2 separate regions of the Homo sapiens genome follow, and region 2 is linked to region 1. The links are contacts of gene promoters, found by promoter capture Hi-C in blood cells and fetal thymus (Javierre and others, 2016). All regions are on one chromosome and are shown on one strand. The core of a region is centred on a gene start or on the middle of the fragment in contact, and the rest is flanking DNA. Distances in the headings are between cores, read along the strand shown. Region 1 overlaps NF1 (neurofibromin 1). Region 2 holds the start of RNF135 (ring finger protein 135).

Region 1 (3,856 bases), core at 1,156-3,655:
GGCTGGAGTGAGTGCAGTGATGCAATCTTGGCTCACTCCAACCTCTACCTTCCAGGTTCAAGTGATCTCCTGCTTTAGCCTCCCGACTAGCTGGGGTTACAGGTGCCCACCATCATGCCAGCTAATTTTGTGTTTTTAGTAGACCATTTAGCACCATTTTGGGCAGGCTACTCTTGAACTGTGACCTCAGGTGATCCACCTGCCTCAGTCTCCCAAAATGCAGGGCTTATAGGCATGAGCCACTGTGCCTGGCCTCTTTTAGCTCTCTTTAAAACTGTATGTGTGTTTGTTGGGTCTGTTTTTATAGCTAAAGAAACTGAAGCTTAAATAAAGTTATATTAATAACAAATGCATGGTTAATGAACAGTCAACCAGAGTTAGTTCTGAGGTTTCTTGACATTCAGTTCAGTGTCTTTATCAGGTTCTTTAGTTGTCCTTCTTCACTAGCAAGTTAGCTTGATGAAAGCAGTAGCTTTGTCTGGCTTAATCAACACTGAATCCCTAACGTTTGAACAACATCTGATACATATTGGGCATTTAGTACATGTTTGCAGAATGAATGAAGGAATGAATTTCTTACTTGATGTGGTTTCAAAATCCTCGTACAGGCCGGGCACAGTGGCTCATGCCTATAATACCAGCACTTAGGGAGGCCGGGGCGGGCAGGTCACTTGAGACCAGGAGTTTGAGACCAACTGGGCCAACATGGTGAAACCTTGTCTCTACTAAAAATGCAAAAAAATTAGGCAGGCGTGGTGGCAGGCACTTGTAGTTATAGCTACTCAGGAGGCTGAGGCAGGAGAATTGCTTGAACCCGGGAGGCGGAGGTTGCAGTGAGCCAAGATTGTGTCACTGCACTGTCAGCCTGGGCAACGGAGCGAGACTCTGTCTCAAAGAAACAAAAACAAAAAACAAAAAACCCTCCTGTTTCTGATTTGCTTCTCTTCTGGAAAGACCAACCTGACAAAAATTTTTAAAATTAAAATGCCATATTAAGATCTGATGTTAGTGATACAGATATAATACTATGATGTAATAATTGATAAAAGCTATTAAACTGCTGTGTTTGTATACCCTGTTTCTATTAATACAATCTAAGATAGTATTATTATTTTATGTTGACTTTTTAGTTATTTAAACTCTTTGGCCCTTTTTATATGAATGTTGAGCCATAACTTCTCCTTTGTACCTTTGTAGTATTTTTTTAATATTTGAAATGTTTGTCTTAGCACTGATTTTACTATTTGCAAACTAACATCTCCTGCTTTCATAAAATTCAAAACTGCCAATAACAGATATATGAATTTTCACAAGTATTTGTTATTTCTCAACATTTTTTATCTTAAGTGGCATGCTGGCTCACCAGATCTTTCTTACATGCCTGTTATTCAGTCACATGGTCTAAATTAACAAGTGGTTTGGGCCTTTAATAGATATCTGAAGACTCTGGTTCATGAATTTCTTCCCAGACATGATTGCCTCTCATCTTTGGCCAGATCACATGTACCAGCTTCTATTCCTACTAATACCTGCAATATAGAAGATCAACTAATGAATGAATGAATTTTTTTCTTACATTTCTAATTAAGAAACACATTGCTTCTTTAGCATGTTTTTCCTCACTTTCTGTAACCCACTAAAATTAAAAGGTATTTGAGATGAATTAAATTTATTGGAATTTCTGAAGTCATACATTTCATATTAGGCAACCATGTTGGAACAGAATTTACATGTTGATATTTGGGATTAAGAGGTGACATAATTAAACTAATATAGTCATACATCACTTAATGACAGGGACATGTCTTGAGAAATGAGTGCATCCTTAGTGATTCAGTCATTGTGCAAACATCATAGAGTCTGCTTACATGAACCTAGATGGTTATATAGCCTGCTACATACCTAGGATATATGGTCTAGCCTACTGCTCCTAGGCTGCAAACCTAGACTAAACAGCATGTTACTGTACTGAATACCTTAGGCAGTTGTAGCACAATGGTAAGTATTTGTTTATTCAAACAGAAAAGGTGCAGTAACAATACAGTATAAAAGAAAAAAATGTATAGGACACTTAACACAAATGGAGTTTGCAGGACTGGAAGTTGCTGTGGGTGAGTCATTGAGTGAGTGTTGAGTGCATGTGAAGCCTAGGACATTACACTACTGTAGACTTAAAATTTTTTTAAATTTATTTTACTTTTAATACTTTTGCATTTTTCTCATACTCAGGATCTATACTGTAGACTTTATAAACACTACACTTAAGCTATATCAAATTTATAAAAAATATTTTTATATGATAACTTTACAGTAGCTTTTAAAATATAAACTTTTAAATTTTTTAATTTTTTGACTTGTAATAACACTTAGCTTAAAACACTTTGTATAGCTAGCTGTATAAAATATTTTTCTTTATATCCTGTAAGTTTTTTCTATTTGAAAATGTTCTATTTTAATTTTTATTTTGAAAACTGTTTTAAGATCTGGGACACAAACATACACGTTAGCCTAGGCCTACATGGGGTCAAGATCATCAATCAGTGTTACTGTCTTCCACCTCCACATCTGCTCCCATTGGAAGGTTTTTAGGGGAAATAACGTGTGGAGCTGTCATCTCTTGTGGTAACAATGCCTTCTTCTGGAATACCTACTGAAGGACCTTCTGAGGCTGTGTTTCATAGTTAACTTTTTATCTTTAAGTAGGAGTATAACAATACAAAGTATACTATAGTAGGCTGGGCCTGGTGGCTCACGCCTGTAGTCCCAGCACTTTGGGAGGCCAAGGCAAGTGGATCACCTGAGATCAGGAGTCGAGACCAGCCTGGCCAACATGGCAAAACCTCTTCTCTACTAAAAATAGAAAAAAATTAGCTGGGCGTGGTGGTGCATGCCTGTAGTCCCAGCTACTTGGGAGGCTGAGGCAGGAGAATTGCCTGAACCCGGGAGGCAGAGGTTGCAGTTAGCCGAGATCGCGCCACTGCACTCCAGCCTGGGCAACAAAGTGAGACTTGGTCTCAAAATATATATATTATAATAAATACATAAACCAGTAACAGTTATTTATTCTCATCAAGTATTGTATACTGTACATAATTGTATGTGCTATACTTTTTTTTTATATGACTAGAAGTGAAGATTTGTTTACACCAGCATCACTACAAACAATAACGCATTGTGCTTGGACATCACGATGGCTATGATACTAAGTGATAGGAATTTTTCAGCTATGTTACATATTGTCTATCATTGACTGAAATGTTGTTTTGTGGCATATGACTCTATTTACGTTTTTTGGAAATGATTCTTAAGGAAAAATTCTGATACCTGCTCATTGTTCTCTGATCTTGTGTTCCTGTGCAATGGCTGCATCAGGGAAGAGCCATTTGATAGTTACACTTAGTTACATCAAAGTAAATAAATTCGTTTAATCAAAGTTTCAGCTTGATCTGAGGTGAAACACCTCAACTTAGAGTGAGGAAAAAAATACAGTTGAAAGAGAGCAAACAGTAAAACCAGAATTTATTAAATCATTTAGTAAAACATTTGCTTTGGGGTCAGGGGGCAGTTATAAAAAGCAAACTATTTGGAAGTTTTGCTATTTCTCTTCTGTAGTGACATTCTTGAGTATAAATGTGTGCATTAAATAGCTATTCTTCCCCGCAAGGACTAAAACCCTTCGGTGTTCTTGGGTATAATAACAAATGCATATTTCACTTAAACATTGAGGATAGTTCATTTGTGTTGTAGATATGCATGTCTGCTTCTTAACTTTGAAAGACAGCCTGTTTACCTGGACATTTGTATTATGGGTCCACAGTTGGTACACAGTCTTGTTATTTCTGTATTATATATATGT
Region 2 (3,856 bases), core at 709-3,208, 240 kb before region 1:
TTTGTAGAGGCAAGGTTTCACCATGTTGCTCAGGCAGGTCTCGAACTCCTGAGTTCAGGCAATCCACCTGCCTCAGCCTCCCAAAGTGCTGAGATTACAGGCATAAGCCACCACGCCCCGCCAGTGATTTCATTTTTTAAGTTGGAAGATCTGAGCATGTTTAAGTGTTTAGTATCATGCCCGTTTTACAGAAAAAAAGAGGCTCTTAGAAACTACGATTTTACTCCGATGCGGAGATTCTAGAACAAGATCCAGGTAATACATCAGTCAGGATAGGCTAGGTTATGCTGTAGCAGCACACACCCACTAAATCTCAGTAAGCTGAATACATCCTAGTTTTCTTCTCCCTCTTACTACGTATCCTAGGGTGCGTTGGCAGGGAGTCTGCTCATCTTAGCCACTCAGTGACCCAGGTCACCGGATGATGGTTTCATCTCCATAATTGGGGCAGCTGGCAGAAAGGGATACAATGGCCGGCTCAGTCGCCTTTAAAGCTGGTGGGAAGTAACATATTACCTCTGTGTGTTTCAAGTGGGTCAGGGAAGTGCCAGTCCTACCATGTGCCCAGAAAGGGAAAGCACTGGAAACGTTGATGAGCAGCGCTGCCTACTCCATGACACTTCCAGTATTAGAAATAACCACAAACGCTTTTTTTTCTTTCTTTTCTTTCTTTTTTTTCTTTTTTTTTTTTTTTTTTTTTTTGAGACGGAGTCTCCCTATGTCGCCCAGGCTGGAGTGCAGTGGCGCAGTCTTGGCTCACTGAAACCTCCGCCTCCCGGGTTCAAGAGATTCTCCTGCCTCAGCCTCCCAAGTAGCTGGGATTACAGGCATGCGCCAGGGCGCCTGGCTTTTCTTTTCTTTTCTTTTTGTATTTTCAGTAGAGATGAGGGTTCACCATGTTGGCCAGGCTGGTCTTGAACTCCTGACTTCAAGTGATCCAAAGGTCGGCTACAAACTTGTATTATCTGATACCTACTTTGAGCCCAGGCCAGAAAGGATAAAGTAAAGCATGAGACGTTGTTAGTTCATTTCAACAGATTGGGGAGTTGTGGGTTTTAGTCTCTGACGCTTCATTGTTACCATGAGAGCCTGCAAGTTTTTCTTTTTTCTCTTTTTTTTTTTTTTAACCTCTTTGGGTCATCTGGGAGGACGTGGTGCTCTTTTAGCTCTAACATTTTCTGGTTGCAATGCGTTTAGGACTGGGATGCGAAGTGAGTGAGTGAGTGAGCCTTCTCAGGAAAACACTTTCTAGAATTTTGTCCGAGTGTCTGTTGGGAAACGCGCTTACATCCCGCAGAAGGCGGTAAGGACACAGCGCACAACTCTGCATTATACCTGCGAGTTAAAAAGCCAAGGGTTCGCTCACTCAACCTTGAATGCGCGTCAGAATCACCTGGGGGAGGTTTTACAAAATACCCGTGCTCCACCCAAGACAATGAAATCAGACTCCCTGCGAGCGGGGCCGAACATCAGCATTTTTGAGGACGCTCCCTGTGGCTGTGCATCGGTGATCTTTAATCCCCTGCTACTTGTTAGAGGAGCTGGATGACACTTCGTGGGCTCATTCTCATAAATAAGCTGCTGAATGGAGTCCTCTCCTCCCAAGAGTTGTCGGTGTTGCATCTTTTTTGTTGTTTATTTTTTTTTAAGCCAACGGACGAAGACATCCAACGGTGCTGCATCTTAATGGAGGGACATCCAGCTAAAGGGAATCTTGGAGACCTCCGCGGGTTTCTAGCAGCTCGCGGCATGTTGGTTTCCCAGGGCAAGAGGCCGCCACTGAAGGTCAGCTCTGTCTTTCCAGCTGGGCACTGGAGGCTCTAAGTCTGTTTTCAGCAGGATCGGAGGAAGGAGACGGGGTGGCGCCAAGGAAGGAGGAGAAAAGGCGGCCGAGAAAAGGAGGAGGGCAAGGGGAAGAGGAAGGGCGAGGGAGGAGCCTGAGGAGACTCGCCCGGCTCAACCCCGACGTCCGCGCCCCGGCCGCCTGTTGGCCATGGCGGGCCTGGGCCTGGGCTCCGCCGTTCCCGTGTGGCTGGCCGAGGACGACCTCGGCTGCATCATCTGCCAGGGGCTGCTGGACTGGCCCGCCACGCTGCCCTGCGGCCACAGCTTCTGCCGCCACTGCCTGGAGGCCCTGTGGGGCGCCCGCGACGCCCGCCGCTGGGCCTGCCCCACTTGCCGCCAGGGCGCCGCGCAGCAGCCGCACCTGCGGAAGAACACGCTACTGCAGGACCTGGCCGACAAGTACCGCCGCGCCGCACGCGAGATACAGGCGGGCTCCGACCCTGCCCACTGCCCCTGCCCGGGCTCCAGTTCCCTCTCCAGCGCGGCCGCGAGGCCCCGGCGCCGCCCGGAACTGCAGCGGGTAGGGAGGCCGGGCCCGCAGCTCCCCTGGCTCCCCCGGGCTGCCCGCCGCCTGACCCTTTCCCATGTGGCTCGAACCCCTTTCCTCAGCCGTTCTACTTTTACGTTCCTTTTCTCAGTCTAAAAGTCGAGTTCCGCTCTTCGGAGGCACTTTGGAAAGTTCATAAAAGTATGAAGAAGTAGAAAAAAACAAATTCCCCATCTTCCGAAAGCTTGTCAACTTAGCTGTTACACAGCTTGGCATATTTCAACTTCTTCCCAATCGATCTTCGGTCTCTTTCTCTGAAACTTGTAAAATTGTGGTAAGATCTATATAACATTAAAACTGGCCATTTTAACCTTTTTCTTTATTTCTTTGAGACGGAGTCTCGCTCTGTCGCCCAGGCTGGATGGAGTGCAATGGCGTGCGTGATCTCGGCTCACTGCAACCTCCGCCCCCCAGGGTCGAGTGATTCTCTTGCTTCAGGCTCGAGAGTAGCTGGGATTACAGGCGTGCGCCATCACGCCCGGCTAATTTTGGTATTTTTAGTAGAGACGGGGTTTCGACATGTTAGCCAGGCTAGTCTCAAACTCTTGACCACAGATGATCCGTCCGCCTCGGCCTCCCAAAGTGCTGGGATTACAGTCATGAGCCACAGCGCCTGGCCTCATTTTAACCTTTTATTTTTTTGAGACGGAGTTTTGCTTTGTGGCCCAGGCTGGAGTGCAGTGGCGCCATCTTGTCTCACTGCAAGCTCCGCCTCCCGGGTTCACGCCATTCTCCTGCCTCAGCCTCCCGAGTAACTGGGACTACAGGCGCCCGCCACCACGCCTGGCTAATTTTTTGTATGTTTTTTTCTTTTTTTAAAAAATAGGGACGGGGTTTCACCGTTGTTAGCCAGGATGGTCTCGATCTTCTGACCTCGTGATCTGCCCGCCTCGGCTTCCTAAAGTGCTGGGATTACAGGTGTGAGCCACCGCGCCCCGCCTATTTTAACCATTTTTAAGTGTACAATTCAGTGACAAATTAGTTACATTTCCTGTTGTGCAACTATCACTTCTGTTTCCAAAACTGTTTCATCATCATAAACAGAAACTTTGTACTCATTAAGCAGTAACTCCTCATTTCTCCTCCCTCTAGCCCCTGCTCACATCTAAGCTACTTTCTGTATCTGAGTTTGCCTGTTCTAGATATTTCATATAACTGGAATCGTTCAATGTTTGTCCCTTTGTGCCTGGTTTCTTTCACTTAGCATAGTGTTTTCAAAGTTCATTCATGTTGTAGCATGTGTCAGAACTTTATTCCTTTTATGGGGCTGAATGATATTCCATTGGGTGGATGTGCCACATTTTTTTTGTTTGTTTTGTTTTGAGATGGAGTCTTGCTCTGTTGCCAGGCTGGAGTGTAGTGGCATGATCTTGGCTCACTGCAACCTCTGCCCCCTGGGTTCAAGTGATTCTCCTGCCTCAGCCTCCCAAGTAGCTGGGACTACAGGCATGCACCACCACACCC

The links. Contacts are between HindIII fragments. The CHiCAGO score rates a contact against its expected background, and 5 or more counts as called.
Region 2: a contact is called between the fragment with the promoter of RNF135 here and a fragment that was not itself captured in region 1, in 3 of 17 cell types (megakaryocytes, M2 macrophages and endothelial precursors). The highest score is 9.1, in megakaryocytes.

What each region holds. Positions count from the first base shown.
Region 1 is chr17:31,209,694-31,213,549 of GRCh38, forward strand. The region is part of intron 12 of NF1 (neurofibromin 1); the gene reads left to right. Among named protein-coding and RNA genes, the nearest start is that of OMG, 86 kb to the right of the region's middle. The HindIII fragment of the contact is 4,171 bases long and covers 321-3,856 here.
Region 2 is chr17:30,969,081-30,972,936 of GRCh38, forward strand. RNF135 (ring finger protein 135) reads left to right here and starts at 1,959. Exons shown (of 5, transcript NM_032322.4): 1 at 1,959-2,365. The coding sequence starts at 1,994. RefSeq lists enhancers at 1,095-1,184, 1,245-1,304, 1,373-1,934, 1,585-1,834, 1,935-2,496 and 1 more and a silencer at 1,915-2,454. The HindIII fragment of the contact is 12,676 bases long and covers 1-2,574 here.